Linked DNA regions of Homo sapiens: regions 1, 2, 3, 5, 6 and 7 are each linked to region 4. Evidence: promoter capture Hi-C in 16 types of primary human blood cells and fetal thymus (Javierre and others, 2016). All regions are on one chromosome and are shown on one strand. The core of a region is centred on a gene start or on the middle of the fragment in contact, and the rest is flanking DNA. Distances in the headings are between cores, read along the strand shown. Region 1 overlaps ARMH1 (armadillo like helical domain containing 1). Region 2 overlaps RNF220 (ring finger protein 220). Region 3 holds the start of RNU5D-1 (RNA, U5D small nuclear 1). Region 4 holds the start of TESK2 (testis associated actin remodelling kinase 2). Region 5 holds the start of BEST4 (bestrophin 4). Region 6 holds the start of SNORD145 (small nucleolar RNA, C/D box 145). Region 7 overlaps ARMH1 (armadillo like helical domain containing 1).

Region 1 (3,242 bases), core at 622-3,121, 780 kb before region 4:
GGGAGACTCCATCTCAAAAAAAAAATTGCTGAAAATATGCTAACAAATACGTATAAGAATCAAGTCCATGGTAAAATGGAACTGTTTATGAATTTGGAAAATGGTCATTTGTAGAATACAATTTTTGTCTACTTGACCTAGAACCTGGAATTAACTTGACTTGCTAATCAAATGATCATTTCATATATTAATAGCGAAGTTGAAAGTATGGTTCATCAGCCCCAAAGTACAACAGTGGGGCTTGTAGCTGAGCGAACTCTCGCACTAACACAGTGGAATCCTCTAGAGATGCTAGTGCAGGGAAACAGTGGCCCTAACTGACCAAACCGAACAGACATGGACAAGGCTTTGAATGCGTGACACCTCCTCCCCTGGCCCCCTGAAACCTGGAGAGACTGGTGGTCGCAAGAACCTCATTGTTAGTTTCCTTCGGTTCTTGGCTGTGTAAAGTTACTTAGGTTCCTAATTCTAAGAGGTATGATTGATCTAGAAATTAATCACAGATTGGCCGGGCATGGTGGCTCACACCTGTAATCCCAGCACTTTGGGAGGCCAAGGCAGGTGGATCACGAGGTCAGGAGATCGAGACCATCCTGGCTAACACGGTGAAACCCCGTCTCTACTAAAAATACAAAAAATTAGCCGGGCGTGGTGGTGGGCGCCTGTAGTCTCAGCTACTCGGGAGGCTGAGGCAGGAGAATGGCGTGAACCCAGGAGGTGGAGCTTGCAGTGAGCCGAGATCATGCCACTGCACTCCAGCCTAGGCAACAGAGCAAGACTCCGTCTCAAAAAAAAAAAAAAAAAAAAAGAAAAGAAATTAATCACAGATTTGGTTTACTTCTTTCTTCATAAAAGCACATTTTTTAACTGAGATGACATTCACATAACATAAAATTAACCATTTTAAAGTGAACAATTCAGTGGCATTTAGTATACATTCACAGTGTTGTACAACCACCATCTCTATCTAGTTCCAAAACATTTTCATCCCCCCAAAAGGAAACCCTGAATTCAGCGAGCAGCTATTCCCCTTCCACTCCCTCCAGTCCCTGGGAAGCCCCAATCTTCATTCTGTCTCTATGGATTTACCTATTCCATATATTTCACATAAATGGAATTATACAATACATGACTTTTATGTCTGGCTTCTTCCACTTAGCATAATATTTTCAAGGTTCACCCACATTGTAACATGCATCAGTACTTCATTCCTTTTTGTGGATGAATAATATTCCGTTGTATGTATCTACCACAATTTGTTTATCCATTCATTCATTATTAGACATTCGGGCTATTTCCAGCCTTTGGCTCTTGTGAACCAGTGCTTCTATGAACATCCACATACATGTAATTGAGTACCTGTTTTCAGTTCTTTGGGGTATATTACCTAGGAGTGGAATTGCTGGATCATATGGTAATTCTGTTTAACTCGTTGAGGAACCCACTAAACTGTTTTCCACAGTAGTTGTACCATTTTACATTCCCAGTAGCAGCAATATATGAGGATTCCAATTTCTCCACTTCCTCACCAAACTTGTTATTCTGGGGATTCTTTAATTATAGCCATCTTAGTGGATGCGAAGTGCATTTTCCTAATGAATAAGGATGTTGAACATAGACGTGTTTCATAGACTTGTTGTCCATTTGTATTTCTTCTTTGGAGAAATGTCTATTCAGGTCCTTTTTCCATTTTAAAATTGGTTGTTGGGTTGTAAGAGTTTTTCATATATTCTAGTTTCTGTGCTCATCAAATATATGGTTTCTCCCATTCTGTAGGTTCTTTTCACCTTCTTGATAATGTCCTTTGTTGTTTTCATTTTCAATGATTTAAGTTTCTCATTTATTCATTTACTTATTCAAAAAGAATGGCACTGGGGTGGGCACTGAGAGTATAGTGACAAATGAAACAAGTCCTTGTTCTCACAGAGCTTTGTTACAACAGTGATACTAATGGTAATGTTAACTCATAACTACTACTAGTGACCAACAATGACTGTGTGCCCAGCATTGTTCTAAGCTCTTTTACCATCTCATCTATTCCTCAGAACAACTCTGTGAAGTAGGTACTATTTTCATCCCCAGTTTACAGATGAGGAAACTGAGGCACAAAGCAATTAAATAACCTGTCCACAGTCTCAAAATGATAAATGAGAAAGCTGTAGATCAAACCCAGTCAGTCTGCCTCCTGCGCCCATCCCCTCACCACCACACTATTCTTTCTTCAGTATTAGAACAAGACTTGCCTTGTTTTTACCAGCTTTGAGAAGTAGATAAAAACCCAAGGACACCCTTTTAATCCCAGCACTTTGGGAGCCCGAGGCGGGCAGATCACTTGAGGCCAAGAGTTTGAGACCTGGCTGGGCGCAGGGGCTCTCACCTGTAATCCCAGAACTTTGGGAATCCAAGGCGGGCGGATCACCTGAGGCCAGGAGTTCGAGACCAGCCTGGGCAACAAGGTGAAATCCTCTCTCTACTAAAAATACAAAAATTATCTGGATATGTGGCAGGAGCCTGTAATCCCAGCTACTTGGGAGGTTGAGGTAGGAGAATCACTTGAACCTGGGAGGCAGAGGTTGCAGTGAGCCGAGATCGTGCCACAGCACTCCAGAGTGGGCAACAAGAGTGAAACTCCATGAAACTCTGTCTCTACTAAAACTACAAAAATTAGCTGGGCATGGTGGCTCACACCTGTGGTCCCAGCTACAGGGAACCGCAAAAAAAAAAAAAAAAAAAAAAGGACAGACAACATTGTTAAGATTACAGTAAACCATATTTTTAAAATTATGTTTTCTTAGCTTCATACCCCTCACAGGGTTAAGCAAATACATCAGGATTTCTTCTTTTTTCTTTTTTTTTTTTTGAGATGGAGTCTTGCTCTGTTGCCCAGGCTGGAGTGCAGTGGTGCGATCTTGGCTCACTGGAACCTCTGCCTCCGAGGTTCAAGCGATTCTCCTGCCTCAGCCTCCCAAGAAGCTGGGATTACAGGCATGTGCCACCACGCCCAGCTAATTTTTATAACTTCAGTAGAGACAGGGTTTCACCGTGTTGGTCAGACTGGTCTCAAACTCCTAACCTCAGGTGATATACCCGCCTCAGCCTCCTAAAGTGCTAGGATTACAGGCGTGAGCCACTGCACCACCTGGGTCTCATTTAAAAACTAGTGTTTTTGCCTTACAGAACGTTATGCCTTTGCTTTGCACTTTTTTTTTTTTTAAGACGGAGTCTCGCTCTGTCACCCAGGC
Region 2 (3,274 bases), core at 659-3,158, 860 kb before region 4:
ATACGTTTCTAGGATACTACAGTAGAAGGAGGAGAAAATCAGAGTAAGCTTCACACAGGAGGTAATGACTGAAAACGGACTCAGAGAAGGAACAGAAGTTCACTTGGCAGACAAGGAAGAAAGGTTACTCCAGATATAAAGACAACACTATGTAGAGAACATAGAGGTGTAACAGAATGATGTATCTGGGGACCTGCTAGCAGTTTGCTTTTGTTAGAAAGTAGAATGCAAGGAAAGTTAGTAGGTGAAGCTGGAAAGCAACCCAGAGACTAGCTGGGTATCCCATCCCTTGCTCTTTACACAAGGCCTGGCATGTAGTAGTTGTTCAGCTATGTCGGATTTTTAAAGTCACTGAGCTAGGCCTTGAAACCAGGGGGTATTGGTTTCTGGGGTTTTGTTTTTGTTTTTCATAGAGACAGGGTCTCACTATATTGCCCAGGCTGGTCTTGAACTCCTGGGCTCAAGCAATCCTCCTGCATTGGCTTTCCAAAGTGCTAAGATTAAAGGCATGAGCCTTGGTTTCTGGTTTGAATTCTCATTTACTTAGCCCCTGCTGACTAACTAACCCTCTTTATCATTACCTCACTTAAACCTCATAGCAACTGTATTCATCATGCCCAGTCTATTACCAAGGAAACAGGCCTAGAAAGAGGTGACTCTTCTAAGAACACATAAATTGTAAGTAACAGAATTAGGACTTGAACTTGAGTCTGTCTGGCCCTAAATCCGAGATTGTTTCCCAACCCATCACTGGGCTCAGGGCTTATCTCATAAAGTCTTTCTCCCGTTCCCACTGGTGTCTCCTTCATGCAAGACGCTGTGCTGGGTAAATGGCTAGAGATGACCTTCCAAGTACAAGGGACAGATATGTAAACAAACAATCAAAATATACATGATCAAAGAGAAGCAGTGGAACTGAAAACTCAGAGGAGGCATCAAACCCAGGCTTGGGGGACAAAACTAAGTCTTGCCAGAGTCCTGAAGGATGAACAACAGTTAACCAAGCAAGGGATACTGGAGGGCATGGAGGCTCTCTGGCCTGGAGTGCAGAGCATGGAGTGCTCAAAGAGCTAGTTAGCTCTGCAAAGCTGAGTGTCAGGAATGTAAAGGGAGAGAATAGGAGTGAGAGAAGAGTCTGGCAAGGCAGACAGGGAAGGCCTATATGCCTTGATGGAGAACCACTGAAGGATTTAAAGAAGGAGAGGGTTAATTTTGTCCAATAGAAAGATCACATTGTGTGTAGTGTGGAGGATGGGTTGCAGAGAGAGAAGCTAGAGACCAAAAGATGAGACGGGAACAGCTGCAAATTTCGAGAGCTCGTAAGATTATGTATGACTGGAGCACAACGACAACCAAGGTAGGTACAACCATGGAAGAACAACTCAGGGCTGACTTGCCTTTGCCCAGTGCCATGCTGGGCTCTGGGTTCACCCAAATAATTCACACACGGCCCCAACCCTGAAGTGGTCAGTCCACTGATAAAAACTTCACAAGCGATGATAACGGCGCAGAGATGAATGTACTCTTACACAAGGCAAAGCTATTTTTCAGTTAGACCTGGAAGGATGAGTAGGAGATACAGAGGTGGAGATGAGAAAATTAGCGACCTTTCAATGTACACTTTCAGGATCTAGAAAAGGATTGAGTGTGAGGGATGGAGAAAGTGGGGTCCAGGACGACTCTCAACTTTCTTCTGTGGGCACACCTGAGTAGATAGTGGCTTCCTCTTATGAACAGGGAACCCAAGAGGAAGGCCTCTGTTTGGAGGATACTGAGTTCCATGTTGGCCATGTTGGCCGTGTGGGTATGCAGTGCCTATGGGAGCTCCAGGGGCCGTGCAGCAGACAGCTGACATGTTGGGAGTCCTCTGATAACAGAACTGGATGGCCTAGGGGTTGGGCGGGGATCGCCCACAGGCGATAGGGAATTCGGACGCCTTGTCCCCTGTAAAGCACCCAACGCGATGCCTCTGCCCTAAGGGCAGCCGCGAGAAAGGCAGGCACAGGAGGCGGGAGCCGGGGCCGGGCGATGGGGCGGAAGGAGCCCCGCAGCGGGAGGGGTCGTGGAGTGGGGTGGAAGGACTTCGCAGCCGCTAAAGATTGGGTGGGTAGGCTTCACGGGCGGTGGGAGGGACCCCGGGGAGGCTTCTGCCGGTTGCTACCCGAGTACAAACGGCAGCTTCCTGGTCTCTGTCCGGCCGCCCCCGCCGCATTGTGAACTTTCACCCCCAGCGCGCGACGGCGGCAGATCACGTGATTAGGGCCAACATGGCCGCCGCCGCCGCTTGGAGCTGAAGTGCCGCCGCCGCCGGGCAGCCACGGGGAATCCGCCCGCATCGCCGCCCTCGCCGGCCGGGCGGCCGTGGGGCCCAGAGCGCCGGAGGCCAGGGCTGGGGCGGCACCGCGCAGCGGCCACGGGGTCCCGTTAGAGCAGCGCCCGGCGGCTATGCCGAGAGCCCGGAGCGGCCGGAGGAGCAGAGGGGCCGGCGGGAGGGAGGAAGTAGGTTTGTTTACGGGCTGTTTGGGGCGGAGCAGCTTTGGTCGGGGGTCCGGTGCTGGGGCGGGGGCCAGGACTGCAGGCCGCGCCTGACGCTCTCTTTTCTTTTCTTGCATCTGCCCGCGATCTTCTCCCAGACCTTTCTGCGAGTACGAGCCAACCGGCAGACCCGACTGAATGGTGAGTCCTGCCCGGCCCCTCCCTCCGCCCCACCCCCGGCCTCCTCCCTCCCTCCCTCACTGCCTGCCGCTCCTGGCTTGCCTGGGTCTCTTCGACTCTGGGGCCCGTTGGCTTCTTCGCAGTCACGGCGCCTGAGTATGTGCAAACCAAAGCTGCCGCTCTCAGTTTCCCCGTCTGTCTAATGGAGGTATGGCGCCCAGCTCTTGCCCAAACCTCTCTAAAGGCCCTGAAGAACCCTGGGGGGGCAATAAGTGCCGGAGAATGAGGAACGAGCTACACAATTCTACTCGGGAGCTCAGCTTTGAATTTGCAAACTGCTGGGACCTCACTATACAAACCTGCAGGGCGCTGAGAATGTTTTTCTTCCAGTTTTTAATCAGTGCCCAGTAGTGTGAATACAGCCCCTCTGCTGAGACTTGACAATACAGTGAGATCTGGAGTTCCCACGGCAACAGGAACTAACTCATCCCAGGGCTCTTTGAGTTATCAGTCGGCCCACATTTCACAAAGGTGATCAGCGTGGGCTCGACAGCTCTTAGAGGCCTTCTCTGAAAGCAGGCCGTGTATGCACTACCTAGCAGCCCCCCTTTTGGATTCA
Region 3 (3,127 bases), core at 491-2,990, 760 kb before region 4:
CAGTCTAGTCTAAAACCCCACTTCCAAAAAAATAAAAAACGCACACTCACACCATTACAACAGCCCAAAATAAATGTTCAAACAAAATGTTGTCTCACACCTCGCAACAAACACACAACTTTCTATCTGATTTTTAAACACCGTTGATGAACCCCACCAACATAGGGCTTCAAAAAATTTGCTTGAAACTCAAAACGGTTTCTCTCCACGGAAATCTTTAGTAAAAGGCGAAAGATTTATACGATTTGAAGAGAAACCAGAGCATGTGTTGGAATGGTTGCACACAGTCCTCGGGGGACGGTCACTACTAGATTAGCAATGGTTACTATTAACCCAAAAGAGTGACTTCTGTTTTTGTCTCAGACGATTGTGTGAAAGGAGCTTCGTTATTATGGTAAAGGAAAAGAGGGGGAAAAAAGGGAGAATCTCCTTTTAAAGTAGGACGTGGTCTGTGTGCAGTGCATTGTGGGTATGTAAATGACGCTGAGTCACCACCCCCTCGGTTTCCAGAAATACCTTAAATAGTTCGTTACTTTTTCTAGGCGTTAGGCCACCACCAGGGGGCAGAGCGGAAGCCAGATTTACAGAACTGTAGATGCCTGGTCCAACTAGACAGTGACTTTATTTTATAATTGGCACTTAAAGTAAAAAAAAAAAAAATTAAAAGCTTTAAAATAATTGTATTCATAGGCCTGGCGCGGTGGCTCACGCCTGTAATCCCAGCACTTTGGGAGGCCGAGGCGGGCGGATCACGAGGTCAGGAGATCGAGACCATCCTGGCCAACATGGTGAAACCCCGTCTCTACTAAAAATACAAAAATTAGCTGGGCGTTGTGGCGTTCGCATGTAGTCACAGCTACTTGGGAGGCTGAGACAGGAGAATTGCTTGAACCCAGGAGGCGGAGGCTGCAATGAGCCGAGACTGCACCACTGCACTCCAGCCTGGGCAACAGGAGACTCCACCTCAAAAGAAAAGAAAAGAAAACCACATCATAGCAAATACTGAATTTTGTATCATCCCTCTGCCTTCCACAGTATGTAACAAAGACTCCAAAAAGAGTAGCTTGAACAAGCAAGAAGTTTATTTTCACCTTACCTGAAGGAAGCCCGGAGAAGAAATTCTGAGTTGTTACAGAGGTGTCAGGGCTTAGAACATGATACCCCAACATATGGCACCTTGGCATACTGAGTATTTTAAGCCATCAAAGAAACTGAGAAAACTATATAAGCAGGAAGTTATTTTTGACCTTTTCCTTCTCTTCTCCCATGAAGACCTTCGTGTGACCAGTGTCCTGCCTTATGCCCACAGGGAATGAATGTCACACAGAGGCCAAGAATAATCTGAACAAACAGGCTTTGCCAAGTACCCCCCCCACCCATCCAGTTTATTACCATTCGATCATACACTTTTTTTTTTTTTAAAGAGTCTCGCTCTGTCCCCCAGGCTGGAGTCCAGTGGCGCGATCTCTGCTCACTGCAAGCTCCGCCTCCCGGGTTCATGCCATTCTCCTGCCTCAGCCTCCTGAGTAGCTGGGACTCAGGCGCCTACCACCACGCCTGGCTAATTTTTTGTATTTTTAGTAGAGATGGGAGTTTCACTCTGTCAGCCAGGATGGTCTCAATCTCCTGACCTCGTGATCTGCCCGCCTTGGCCTCTCAGAGTGCTGGGATTACAGGCGTGAGCCACTGCGCCTGGCATTTTTTTTTTTTTTTTTTTTTGAGACAGTGTCTTGCTCTGTGTCCCAGGCTGGAGTGCAGTGGTGCAATCGAGGGCCACTGAAGTCTTGAACTCCTGGGATCAAGCAGTCCTCCTGCCTCAGCCTCCCAAGTAGCTAGGACTACAGAAGCATACTACCACAGCTGGCTAATTTTTAAATTTTTTGTAGAGATGACATCTTGCTATGCTGCCCAGGCTGGTCTTGAACTTCTGACCTCAAGCAATCCTCCTGCCTTGGCCTCCCAAAGTGCTGGGGTTACAGGCATGAGCCACTGCACCTGGCCAGAAAATTTTTGATCATTCCTTTATTAGCTATTAAAGCAAATGGAATGATAAAACATTTACTAAATATTCTAAAATTTACTAAAAATTTTACTAAAAATGTACTAAATTTTCTTGTGCCAGTTTTGACATTTTTGACTTTTTTTTTCTAGAAATGTAGAAACTTATTCACACAACAAGAAGTATGGAGACAGGTGGATCAGGAGGTCAGGAGATCAAGACCATCCTGGCTAACATGGTGAAACCCCATCTCTACTAAAAATATAAAAAATTACCTGGGCATGGTGGCACACGCCTGTAATCCCAGCTACTTGGGAGAATTGCTTGAACCCGGGAGGCAGAGGTTGCAGTGAGCTGAGGTCTCACCACTGCACTCCAGCCTGGGCGACAGAGCGAGACTCTGTCTCAAAAAAAAAAAAAAAAATGACATATGGAGATAGAAATTAAAAATGTATATATATGGAAGTAGGTAGTCGCTAGCATTGGTTCAACTACTGAACCATCAAGAACCCTCTTAGGCTCTTCCTGCTGTACTTGGCTGTCCTGAGCATGTTGGCTTTTAACCAAATTACTGTCTCCTGCCTCATGACCACAAGGCAGCTGTCACAACTCCAGAAAGAACATCCCATGTCCAAGCCAAGAAAAAAGGGATGACACCAGGAAAGCATTTTCTGTCATTCCCTTTTAACAGAAAAACAACAAGTCTTGCCCACAAGCCCCCAGAACTCTCCTGCTTACATCTCATTGGCCAGAACTGTGTCCCATGGCCAGCTCTAATTGCATGGGAGTCTGGGAAAGGAAGTATAGTAACTATAAAGCTTTTTCAGTCTCTAATGTGGAAATGATTTAGGAAGAAGGGGGTTGAGAATACCTGCTGAATTAACCATCAACAGTGTATGTCACAAACAGTTGGTTCATTTGTTTTCTACCCTATTTTCTTTATCCCTTCCTGATGTCTTTTGGGTGAATCCTCACCCTTGATCCTGTTGCTCCTCATTTCATTTTGGCTGTAACCATTCTGCTATTCAATTCATGTATGGATTTCAACTATTAAATTTTTCAAGCCTGGTATTTTCAGTTGCTTCTTCCTGCCTTAACAATATCCTTCCTTATCTTTTGAAGATGTTC
Region 4 (2,856 bases), core at 345-2,844:
TGACTGAGGTCAGACGTTCGAAACCAGCCTGGCCAACGTGGGGAAACCCCGTCTCTACTAAAAGTACAAAAATTAGCCGGACGTGGTGGCGCATGCCTGTAATCCCAGCTACTCGGTAGTCTGAGGCAGGAGAATCGCTTGTACCTGGGAGGAGGAGGTGGCAGTGAGCTGAGATCGTGCCACTGCACTCCAGCCTGGGTGACAGAATGAGACTCCGTCAAAAAAAACAAAAACTAACAAACAAACCCTGAAACTTAACTTGTTCAAAACCAAATTTATTACCTTCTCTCAAAATTGCTTTTTTATGCTCCCTATTTCAGATGAGATCAGGAGCGTTGAGGGTGGTATAACCAGAGACTATGTTCCCTATTTCAATTAACACTACCGATTCACACCATCAGCCAAGTCAGAAACTTTCTACTATTCTTCTCAACTTTATTTTGAAACCTCTTGGAATTTCGGGCCATTCCCTCCCGCCTGGATGAGCACACTCGTTTTCTGCCTACCTGGCCTTTCCGCCTCCACGGTCTTCACTTTCAATCCTTCCTCTATATTTTCACCAAAGATAATGCAATCATACCAAGCTCCTGCTTACAAAACCTTCAACGGCTCCCCATGCATGCAGCATGAAGTCCAAATTCCTCAGCAAGTTCTTCTCAGAGGTATACAATTTAAAGACTTTTAAATTACGCAAACCTGGATTTCGCTTGTAGCGAAATCTGAACACTGGCTTAGTCCACTCTTCACAGCGAAGAGTAAAAAGCAGAGAGGGGAAAGGAAGGGAGACGATGACAAGCGAGGAAAGAAGAGGGGGAAGGCAGTAGGGTCTGAGGGGAGGGAATTGTTTTCCTGGGTAGAGGTGAACGTTTTCGAGGGAAGAGTGTATCGGAGGGAAGTCAAGTGAAGGAACCCAGATCTCTGAGGCAGGAGCGGGTATGCGAGCAGGGAGGCGCTCAGTGGGGAGCTGGAAGTCTCTGAAACAAGAGTTTTCCGAGAAAACGAAAGATCCCTAATGCGAGCGAGGTAACTTCTAATGGGTTCCCAGGTTCTAAGGGGGAGCAGACGTGGCGGGGAGCCTGAGGGAAGTGAGAAGGAAAGGGGAAAGCGGCCAGGAAGGGAGCGTCCGCCGCCGCTGAGAGGGGGACCTCTGGGAAGCCGAGGGGTCCCGTCGGGTGCGGAGGGACGCAGGCGCCTCTGCTCCGGGGCAGAGGAGGTGGAGCGGCAGCGCGCGCGGGCCAGGCAGGATGCCCGGGTTTGTGACCCCCGTCCTCTTTTCACGTTACCTGAGGCAGGACTGAGCAGCCAGAGGGGTGCCTGCGCGGGCAAGAGGAGGAGACGGCGGCAAAGAGGGAGCATAGTAACCCTCACAGCTCGTTGGTGGCAGCGGCTCCTTAGCCTGCGGAGGCGGTGGGAGCCCCTAGCGCAGAAGCCGGCGACTCAGCTAGGCTAGCGGCGGCGGCGAACGAGGAGACTACTGCCATGGCCCCACAGTCGGGGCCGCTCCCCCCGCCTGTTTGGCGGGGCCAGGAGGACGATCCGACCAGCGAAGCCAACAGGGCAGCTGGTAGCTCTGCTGAGCTCCCGGGCCGCGAAAGACTGAAACGCCTACCCGGCCCAGCAGGGGGGTTGGGGGCGGGGTCTCGGCTGGCCACGCCCCTCCCTCAAGCCCTCCCTCAGAGTAGCCAGTCAACCGTCAACTCCTGATAAACGAGGTAGTGGAATTGCCCAATTAGCGCTAGGAATGCCACGTGGTATGAGGGTGGGCACAATGGGCGTCCAGAAAAGCCAATCAACAGCCGTAGGTGCCAACTCCGGAGGACGAAGGGAACCAATAGGAAGGAAGTCGAGGTAAAAACAGAAGAAGCAGTGTGTGGGAAAGGCGGAACCGAGGAGGAGGGAATACACCTGGGGGAAACCCAAGTCCAGGAGCCTCTTAGAGGGCGGGGCAGTAAACACAAGATGGACCAATAAAAATGTTAAACACAGAAATGATTGGTAATTGATAAAGCCAATAGAAAATGGACTAGACTGGCGCGGCTTTCGGGTTGGTCAAGGTATAGCTGAGTAAGGAAAAGCGGTAAGAATGCTGCGTCCTGCAGGATTTCAGTATAGTGAGGAGGAAAAAATATATCAATAATACCGACTTGAAATAGTAAGAGCAATCAGTAGAGCTAAACAAAATGCTAGGGAAGCAATTAATCATGACTATGAGATTCGGTTAAGTGAAAGCTTAGAGGAGGTAACACTTCAGCTAGCTTGAAAACAGATTTTGAAAGAAAGCTGGTGGGGAATAAGTTGGGATTTTTTGTTGTTTTTGTTGGTTGTTTTTTTTTTAGAAGGGTCTCACTCTGTCGCCCAGGATGATGGAGTGCAATGGAGCGATCATGGCTCACTTGCAGCCTCAAACTCCTGGATTAAGATGATCCTCCCAACTCAGCCTCCCCGGATAGCTGGGACTACAGGCACACGCCAGCATGCCTGACTAATTTTTTGTATATTTTGTAGAGACGGGGTTTACCATGTTGCCCAGGCTGGTCTGTAACTCCTGGACTCAAGTGATCGGCCCACGTTGGCCTACGAAAGTGCCGGGATTACAGGCGTGAGCCACCGCTCCCAGCTAAGAATTCTGCCCAGCTGTTCAAGGCACATATTTCTTCACTTTTTGCATGTGCCTGGACATCAGGAGCTCATAATCTCATGACTGAAGAGACTAGAACAGGAGGAGGGCAAGAGCAAGCAGTATGGGCCTTACTGTATTAGCACTCCCAGGGGTTAGAGACCCCTTTTCAGACATCTTAAGACTTTCATCCTCCTGGAAGAGTATAAGTGGTATGCATTCCTGGTGGCCATAAAGTT
Region 5 (2,861 bases), core at 197-2,696, 700 kb before region 4:
AGGAAGGGAGAGTGGAGAGCCTGGGGGTCGGAGCGCCTCACCTCCCCCAGCAAAGGGCCTGGTCCAGGCCAGTTGAATCGTGGCAGGGGGAAGGAAACATTCAGCTCCAGTGCCCTGCTGTGCGAGGCCAGGAGGAGGGAGGAGGGCAAACTTCCTTCAGCAGAGGGAAAGTGGGGATTCAAAGCCAGGAGACTGCTTCCCAGGAGGGTGGGGAAGGGGTTGTCACCTCTGTCCAGCTCCCCTGCAGTGCCCAGGGTGGGCTTGTGAGGCCAGCAGGTGTCTTGTGCCTTGCTGGAAGTGAGGGTCCGGCAAGTGATAGGGCCCTGCCCTCTGGAAGTCCTGGACCCAGCACCCAGCTCCTGTGCCTGCTGGGCCTGCTCTGGCTGACCAGGAAGGCTCTGCCACCGTGTTGAGTAATTCTTTTTTTTTTTTTTTTTTTTTTTAGCAGAGTCTCGCTACATTGCCCAGGCTGGACTGGAACTCCTGGGCTCAAGCGATCCTCTCACCTCAGCCTCTCGAGTAGCTGAGACTGCAGGTGTGTCACCACACCATCTGTTGGGTAATTCTGACCCTCGGAGCTGTCAACCCAACCCAGAGGTCAGGGAACACAGTAAGGGGGACACAGGGAAAACTAGAAGGGAGCCTTACCCAATACAAAGGACAAGGGAATGAGGTCTGCTGAGCGGTTGCAGTACCGGGCCACCTGAGCATACACGTACCTCTGCTCCTGGGTCAGCAGCAGCCTGGGGAAGGCAGGTGTAGGCTTGGGTTAGAGGGAGGTGGGTGGCCCAGTCTCCCCACTTGCGCCAGCTCTAAGACCCTGCCCTTACCGGTAGGTGATGCTAAGCACAGCGTACAAGGCCCCAAAGAGGAGGAATTCCTTGTAGAGGAGCTTGTAGATGCTTCCCCTCCAGCGGAGAAGCAGGCCAGAGAAACCTCCGAAGCGGGCCTCCGCCACTTTGAGAGTGTATGAAACCGTCATGGTGCTGGGAGCCTGGGGCAGGAGGTCACAAGAGTTGCCCCCAGGGCTGTCGTTTAGTTCTCCAGACAACCTCCCTTCCACTCTGGTCTCACACACCCCAGCCTTCACCCTGCGTCAGTGGACAAGGGGGTAGGAGCCTGCAGAGCAGAAAAGTACACCCCACCCCCTGCAGAACTGAGCAGTACATGGGCAAAGCCAGGCTAGAGTTGGACAAGGTAGAACTGAGATCTGTGTCCCTTCATGCATGAGGTTTCCTCAAGCTCCTCTTCAGCCTGCAGGGCTAGGGATAACCAGATCCTGAACTGCTGCGGACAAGAGACGCAGCTCCAGCCCAAATCCACTGCTATTCCTTGGGGCCTTGCTTTGGAAGCTGATTAACTAGAACTACCAGGGCCCAGGGCACTCTCACCCCCATCCCATACCTGCCTACCTGCTCTGGGCAGCAGCCCGTGTGGAAGATGAACTGGGCTAGACTTCAACCCCCACAGACTTAAGTACCTCTGCAGTCCATAAAGTTAGGCTGGACTGAGGCCTATCATTGATGGATTGAAGCTGTCATCCAGCTTCCCCTGGTGCTGGGAACTGGGTGTGTCTCCTTACCCCTGTAGGGTTGGGCTGGCCTTCGAGTGGCAGAAATGCCAGCTATACTGACCCCACAGCTCACACAGACGACACCATGTCCTTCAAGCCAGTATGACAGGGGTTATTGTCCCACGTTTCAGGTGGGAAGACAGATGCATGATAAACTGTTATAATAATACCAGCTGCTGATCACAGAGCACTGACTAAGTGACAGGAACCATGCCAAGGGCACTACTAGGTCATCCTCTCAAGAAATCCTCATCACAGCACCATGAGGTAGGGAATCAATCATCCACATTTCACAGATGAGGCTCCAAGAGGTAAATGACTTGCCCGCCGTCGGCCATACAGCTAGAACATGTTGGAGGCAGGATTCAAAGCCAGGGCTGATGGACTTCCAAGGCTGGAAGTGGCCTAGCAAAGGCATGAGCTCCAGGACCCATCCTGTGCACTGGCCACACTCCCAGTCTTCTTGTACAGGGGCTTGGGGGCTTGGCCAGGCTCTTCTCCATCCATGCCACGGGGCTGACAGCCACAGATCTGGAAGCTCAGGCCTAGGAGTGCAGGCTCCGTTAAGCCCTGTGTCCAACATCCTGACTCCTAGGGGTGCCCAAGATTTGAGTGGCCACTTTCACCTCTGGAGGAAGTAATACCTAAGGCGCTGATAGAAATAGAACTTCCGCTGCCAGGCAAGGTGGCTCACACCTGTAATCCTAGCACTTTGGGCAGCCTCAACGCAGGTGGATCACTTGAGGTCAGGAGTTCGAGACTAGCCTGGCCCAACATGGTGAAACCCTGTCTCTACTAAAAATACAAAAATTAGCCGGGTGTGGTGGCACGAACTTGTAATCCCAGCAGGTACATGGGAGGCTGAGGCAGGAGAATTGCTTGAACCTGGGGAGGCGCAGGTTGCAACGAGTTGAGATCGTGCCACTGCACTCTAGCCTGGGTAATCAAAAAAAAAAAAAAAAGAAAAGAAAGAAAGAAAAAGAAAAAGAAAAAGAAATAGAATCTCAATGGGAGAATCGCTTGAACCCGGGAGGGAGAGGTTGCAGTGAGCTGAGATTGTGCCACTGCACTTCAGCTTGGGTGACAGAGACTCTGTCTCAAAAAAAAAAAAAAAAAAAAAGGCCAGGCACTGTGACTCACGCCTGTAATCCCAGCACTTTGGGAGGCCGAGGCAGGCGGATCACCTGAGGTCGGGAGTTCGAGATCAGCCTGACCAACATGGAGAAACCCCATCTCTACTAAAAATACAAAATTAGCTGAGCATGGTGGCACATGCCTGTAATCCCAG
Region 6 (2,878 bases), core at 296-2,795, 820 kb before region 4:
GGTGGGCGGATCATGAGGTCAGGAGGTCAAGACCATCCTGGCTAACAGGTGAAACCCCGTCTCTACTAAAAATACAAAAAATTAGCCGAGCGTGGTGGCGGGCGCCTATAGTCCCAGCTACTCCGGAGGCTGAGGCAAGAGAATGGCGTGAACCCAGAGCTGAGATCGCACCACTGCACTCCAGCCTGGGCGACAGAACGATATTCTGTCTTAAAAATAAAATAAAATAAAAATAAAAATAAAATAACATGCAAAAAATTGAAAGAGTCTTAATTTTCTCTACTCCCCAGAAAAACTTTCTAGTGTCTCACAGTTCCTATATTTAAATCAAATTTTTCTTTTCTTCTTTGAGACAAGGTCTTTCTGTGTTGCCCAGGCTGGAGGGCAGTGGTGTAGTCATGGCTCACTGCAGCCTCGAACTCTTGGGCTCAGGTAATCCTCCTACCTCAGCCTCCCAAGTAGCTGGGACTATAGGCAAGCACCACCATGCTCAGCTAATTTTTGTATTATTTTGCAGAGGTAGGGTTTGGCCATGTTGCCCAGGCTGGTCTCAAATTCTTGGGCTCAAGCAATCCACCCCCCTCGGCCTCCCAAAGTGTTGGGATTACAGGCGTGAGCCACTGTACCCGGCCAAATTACTTTATTTTTTATTTACTTTTTAAAAGAAGAGCAGAGCAGAGTAGCATAGTATCTAAGAGTACATACTGTACAAAATCATATCTCGGTTCAAATCTCTGCCTCTGCCACTTAATAACTATGACACAGACCTTAATCAAGTTCTCTAAGCTTCAATTTCCTTATCTGTGAAATGGGGACAATGATACAAAGAATTAAATATGATAATAGCTATAGAGGGCTTATCATGGTGCCTGGCAGAAGGAAAGAGTTCAATAAATTGAAATTATTATTACTTCACAAGTAATGCATACTCACTGTAGAAAAAGTAGAAAATGAATATCTAATAAAATTGGAATCATATTGTTTGTAATCTGCTTTCTTCCGTTTGGCAATATATTGTGAACATTTTTCCCTGTCAGTTTATATATTTCTACACCATTATTTTTAGTGGCTTCAGAGAGGCTATAGAATGTTTCATAATTTATGGTGACCAAATCTCCCATTATTGGATATGATGCTGTTTCCAATTTTTTGCTGTTATAAAAATACTTTAATGGACACCCCTTTCTTTGTGCATGTCCCTAATTGTTTCCTAGAAATGGCATCGTATTCAGGCAGCCCCTCCTAATGGCAACTGAAATCTCGGCATGCACAAGCTCTGGAGTAAGGCTCTTAAGCTGAAATCTGGAATTACTTTGGGCAAGACACTTTACCTCCCCACGAGCATCTGTTCTTCATCTGTAAAACAGGATTAAGGGTTCTCCCTACTTCACAAGGTGGTTGTGAGGATTAATAAAATAATGAAAGGAGCTCCTGGTGGGCCTGGCATGTGGATAGAACATGGTTAACAGTGTTAAGTACCACAGACATTCAGAGAAAAGGAGGCCTGCAAAGAGGCCTGGATCTCAAATCCAGGGTCTAGTACAGCACCAGCACCTGGCATAGAGCAGACACTTAGAAAGCATCCTATTTTTTTTTTTTTTTTTTGAGACGGAGTTTCGCTCTCGTTACCTAGGCTGGAGTGCAATGGCACAATCTCGGCTCACTGCAACCTCCGCCTCCCAGGTTCAAGCGATTCTCCTGCCTCAGCCTCCTGAGTAGCTGAGATTATAGGCATGCGCCACCACACCCGGCTAATTTTGTATTTTTAGTAGAGATGGGGTTTCTCCATATTGGTCAGGCTAGTCTCGAACTCCTGACCTCAGGTGATCCGCCAACCTCGGCCTCCCAAAGTGCTGGGGTTACAGGTGTGACCCACCACGCCCAGCCAGAAAGGGCTCTTATCTAGAGGTGAAAGAAAAGAGATCATGATTCCAAAAATAAATACAACTCCTCTGTATTAAAAAAAAAAAAAAAGACCTTTGGGGTCCTCGTAGACAAGACAAGGATCAAATCCCAAACGACTCTCTTCACCTGGGTCTTTGAGGTCTGTCCATCATGACAGATCTTCAGGTTTTCATCTAATTCTCCACCCACAAAAGCACAGCGCGGCCTCCTGCCAGGCCCCTGTTCCCTCCAGCCACTCACTGTCCCCCTTCAGGGATTTACTTCTGCACTTTCTCCCATCCAAGTTCCAAGCAGGCCTGACACTGCTTAGCTTCTGAGATCTGCATGTTCAAGGTGGTATGGCCATGGACTTGACTTCCACACTTTCTGCTGCTCACCATGGGGGTCTGTCAGCCCTCCTGAAGCTTCAGGTCCAGCTTGGGCTGCTCTACTCTAGGAAGCCTCTCCCACCACAGGGCCCACCATGGTGGTCCAGACCCTTCAGCACTGTCTCCTGGGTGTCCGAGACAACTTCCTGAGGGTTAAAATGATGTCTATATTTCTTTGACCTCAGCCAGTGATGAGCAAAAAAGGCATGCGGTAAAACCTGGGGAGCAAAAACCCCCTCACTTCCCCTCTCTGTGATCCCCTTAAGACCTTCTGTTTACTTTAAGAGCAAAATGTTTGTCCCATGACCAGGCCCCAGACTCATTAATTCTATGAATGAATTTTTCTTTATGTTTACTGAACATGAGAGCCACACGGTGCCTTTAAGAAGGTTGCTGGCCTATGAGCAAGTCACAGAGGGGATCTAGGTGGGACTTGGCTGACCATTCTCTGGATGGGAGGAGGGGTGGCACGGCCTGGGCCTGGGATGTCAGAGCAGCTCTGGCTTGGGCCTACAGTGCTGCCAAGTGATTCCATTCAGCTCACTTGGTACATCATCCCTCCCAGGCCCTGGTGACAGTGAGTGAAGCCATCAAAAACACGACAA
Region 7 (3,005 bases), core at 364-2,863, 800 kb before region 4:
CGACAAGTTCATTGAAACCAACCAAGGCAAGACTGCCCCTGAACTGGAGCAGGAGTTTTCCCAGGGAGCCAGTTTGTTCCTGGTACGCTTGACCACCTCGCTTAGAATCACGTATCCTTTACTGAACAGAAAAAAAAAAATTAGGCACCGGGCACGGTGGCTCACGCCTGTAATCCCAGCACTTTGGGAGGCCAAGGTGGGCAGATCACAAGGTCAGGAGTTCGAGACCAGCCTAACCAACATGGTGAAACCCTGTCTCTACTAAAAATACAAAAATTAGCCAGGCGTGGTGGCAGGTGCCTGTAACCCCAACTACTCAAGAGGCTGAGGCAGGAGAATCACTTGAACCCGGGAGGCAGAGGTTGCAGTGAGCCGAGATCATGCCACTGCACTCCAGCCTGGGCAACAGAGTGAGACTCTGTCTCAAAACAAACAAACAAACAAAAATTAGGCAGCCTTCAAAAATGAAAAGGAGAGGAGATTGTCAAAGGGGTTTTCTCTTGATTCTGATATTTTAGAACAGACATCTGGTGTTTAAAAAAAAGTGATAAAAAAAAAATCCTTAGAGTCAAGAACTCTCTCAGCTTCCTGTGTTCCCAACCTATAATTGTATTTCTTTCTCACCCCTAACCTCTTTTGCTCCCATCAGAGTTGAAGTAGGTATACCTTCTGTCTAGGGCTAATCCTCTATTTGTACTGCACTTGAACCCTTTCCTATCTCCTTATTCTTTCTCTCCTATAGCTTTCACCTTTGCCTCATAACCAGCGTTTTTTCAGCATTTATATATGCTGAAATCTCTTCTACTTTAAAAAATAAAATTGAATCCCTGTTTCAAATCTATATTCCACCCAACCCCAATTTCTGCCCTTCATGGTGAAGCTTCTTTTGTTTGTTTGTTTATTTGAAACAGAGTCTCTCTCTGTGGCCCAGGCTGGGGTGCAATGGCACAATCTCAGCTCACCGCAACCTCTGCCTCCCCAGTTCAAGTGATTCTCCTGCCTCAGCCTCCTGAGTAGCTGAGACTACAGCCATGTACCACCACACCTGGCTAATTTTTGTATTTTTAGTAGAGACAGGGTTTCACCATGTTGGCCAGGCTGGTCTCAAACTCCTGACCTCAAAATGCTGGGAGTACAGGCATAAGACACCGCGCCCAGTGAAGCTTCTTGAAAAGGTTGTTGAGGGGCGGGGCGCGGTGACTCACGCCTGTAATCCCAACACTTTGGGAGGCCGAGGTGGGCGGATCACCTGAGGTCAGGAGTTTGAGACAGCCTGGCCAACAAGGGAAACCCCGTCTCTACTACAAATACAAAACTTAGCTGGGCATGGTGGCACATGCCTGTAATCCCAGCTACCCGGGAGGCTGAGGCAGGAGAATCATTTGAACCCGGGAGGCGGAGGTTGCAGTGAGCCAAGATCGCGCCATTGTACTCCAGCCTGGGCCACAGAGACAGACTCCATCTCAAAACATTTTTTAAAAATTATAAAAATAAAGGTTGTTGAGTCTCCCTGTCTCCACTTCCTCTCCTCCCTTTTCTCCACTTGCTGCCATCTGACTTCGGTGCCTCCCACTCCACTGATGCAGGTCTTGCTAAGGTTACCCATGTTTTTCCAGTTGCAAAACCCAGGGACTGCATCCTCAGTCCTTATAGGTGACCTCTCAGTGGCATTTGTCAATCAACCTTTCCCACTTCTCAAAACACTCCTGGTTTCTCTGATACCGATTATCTTGGTGTCTATGCATTTCCCGCTCTTCTTCAGCCACCCCTTAAATGCTGTTCCTTGGGATTCCATCCTCGTCCCTCTTCTCTACTCACTCTCAGATTCTCCCTGAGGGACTAGTTCATTGTCAAGATTCAACACCACTCTTGTATGAGGGCTTTCAAATAAGTATCCCTGCCCAAATTTCTCTCTTGAATCTGAGTTCCATACCTATATATCCAACTATTCCATACCCATATATCCATCTTCACTCATATGCCACAAGATGAGTGTCACATATCTGACTTAGTAAACTAGGGGAATATGGTGCCATTATGTGGAAGAGAACATAAGAAGAGGAGTAAGCTTGAGGGTAGATAAGCTTGTTTTGGGACATGTTGAGTTTGAGATGTCTGTGCTCAGGATCCCTGGAGGCAGGTCAAGGCTAAAGACAGATCTGGTCACCGTCAAGGTGATAGTTCAAGTTATAGGAGGATTTGAGGATATTCCTGCTCTGTGTGCCCATAGCACTCTACAGATTTATCTCAGACCCTTTTATTGTATATTTCTGTCCTTGCCTGAACCCTCTCGCCTTCTCTAAACCCCTTCCTTGACCCATGCACAGTGACTTACACCTATAATCCCAGCTACTTGGGAGGCTGAGGAGGGAGGATCACTTAGGCCTTGGAGTTTGAAGCTGCAGTGAGCTATGATCACACCGCTGTGTTCTATCCTGGGCGATGGAGCAAGACCTCATCTCTATAAAAATAAATAAACCCCCTCCTTATTTGACCAACTCCTACTCTATTATTCAGGTCTCAATTTAAACATCACTTTCTCAGGAAGCCCATTTCTGAGTCCCAGGCTAGCTTAGGTTCCCTTCTTATATATATTCATAGACTTCCTCTGCCTTAATAATCATAACATTTTATTGTTATTACCTGCTTAATATCTCTCTTTCCCCCCACTGGATTTTAGATCCAGTGGGCAAGAATCGCATCTGTTCTACTTATCTTTATATTTCTAACATGTAGCACAATGCCTGGCACATGTTTGCTGAGTAGAGGAATGAATGACCCAGCATCTGCAGCTGGGAAGAATTAAAGGTTTAAGTAAACACTGCTCTCTTTCTTACATTTAAGTTATTGATAAAATTATTTTTCAGACTCAGGCCTGTAACACAGGCCAAAGGGAATAACCATGGAATACATCTGTAGGTTTACCCAAATGTTCTTTTTTTGTTTGTTTGTTTGTTTGAGACAGGGTCTTCCTCTGTTCCCCAGGCTGGAGTACAGCAGCACAA

The links. Contacts are between HindIII fragments. The CHiCAGO score rates a contact against its expected background, and 5 or more counts as called.
Region 1: a fragment that was not itself captured here is called in contact with the fragment with the promoter of TESK2 in region 4 in 8 of 17 cell types (naive CD4 T cells, total CD8 T cells, total CD4 T cells and 5 more); the score reaches 15.0 in naive CD4 T cells.
Region 2: a fragment that was not itself captured here is called in contact with the fragment with the promoter of TESK2 in region 4 in 1 of 17 cell types (non-activated CD4 T cells); the score reaches 5.9 in non-activated CD4 T cells.
Region 3: a fragment that was not itself captured here is called in contact with the fragment with the promoter of TESK2 in region 4 in 10 of 17 cell types (fetal thymus, erythroblasts, total B cells and 7 more); the score reaches 13.8 in fetal thymus.
Region 5: a contact is called between the fragment with the promoter of BEST4 here and the fragment with the promoter of TESK2 in region 4, in 13 of 17 cell types (erythroblasts, naive CD4 T cells, megakaryocytes and 10 more). The highest score is 16.0, in erythroblasts.
Region 6: a contact is called between a fragment that was not itself captured here and the fragment with the promoter of TESK2 in region 4, in 1 of 17 cell types (naive CD4 T cells). The highest score is 5.1, in naive CD4 T cells.
Region 7: a fragment that was not itself captured here is called in contact with the fragment with the promoter of TESK2 in region 4 in 1 of 17 cell types (total CD4 T cells); the score reaches 5.1 in total CD4 T cells.

The regions. Positions count from the first base shown.
Region 1 is chr1:44,709,822-44,713,063 of GRCh38, forward strand. The region is part of intron 6 of ARMH1 (armadillo like helical domain containing 1); the gene reads left to right. The region is part of intron 2 of LOC105378690 (a long non-coding RNA gene); the gene reads right to left. Among named protein-coding and RNA genes, the nearest start is that of RNU5F-1, 10 kb to the right of the region's middle. The HindIII fragment of the contact is 9,625 bases long and covers 1-3,242 here.
Region 2 is chr1:44,629,710-44,632,983 of GRCh38, forward strand. RNF220 (ring finger protein 220) reads left to right here. Exons shown (of 15, transcript NM_018150.4): 6 at 2,634-2,676. Among named protein-coding and RNA genes, the nearest start is that of SNORD145, 40 kb to the right of the region's middle. RefSeq lists enhancers at 1,768-1,867, 1,960-2,507, 2,198-2,287, 2,898-2,987, 3,057-3,274 and a silencer at 2,318-2,627. The HindIII fragment of the contact is 3,724 bases long and covers 47-3,274 here.
Region 3 is chr1:44,730,906-44,734,032 of GRCh38, forward strand. It overlaps RNU5D-1 (RNA, U5D small nuclear 1), which reads right to left and starts at 265; the gene lies at 164-265. RefSeq lists a silencer at 2,372-2,666. The HindIII fragment of the contact is 2,150 bases long and covers 666-2,815 here.
Region 4 is chr1:45,489,569-45,492,424 of GRCh38, forward strand. TESK2 (testis associated actin remodelling kinase 2) reads right to left here and starts at 1,595. Exons shown (of 11, transcript NM_007170.3): 1 at 1,284-1,595. RefSeq lists enhancers at 1,253-1,302, 1,589-1,883 and a silencer at 1,533-1,752. The HindIII fragment of the contact is 2,357 bases long and covers 1-2,227 here.
Region 5 is chr1:44,786,724-44,789,584 of GRCh38, forward strand. It overlaps BEST4 (bestrophin 4), which reads right to left and starts at 1,447. Exons shown (of 9, transcript NM_153274.3): 1 at 831-1,447; 2 at 649-743. The coding sequence starts at 982. RefSeq lists an enhancer at 1-675. The HindIII fragment of the contact is 5,761 bases long and covers 1-2,861 here.
Region 6 is chr1:44,668,211-44,671,088 of GRCh38, forward strand. The region is part of intron 1 of TMEM53 (transmembrane protein 53); the gene reads right to left. SNORD145 (small nucleolar RNA, C/D box 145) reads right to left here and starts at 2,846; the gene lies at 2,747-2,846. The HindIII fragment of the contact is 1,523 bases long and covers 785-2,307 here.
Region 7 is chr1:44,689,793-44,692,797 of GRCh38, forward strand. ARMH1 (armadillo like helical domain containing 1) reads left to right here. Exons shown (of 12, transcript NM_001145636.2): 2 at 1-111. All of the region lies in intron 4 of LOC105378690 (a long non-coding RNA gene), which reads right to left. Among named protein-coding and RNA genes, the nearest start is that of ARMH1, 17 kb to the left of the region's middle. The HindIII fragment of the contact is 905 bases long and covers 1,162-2,066 here.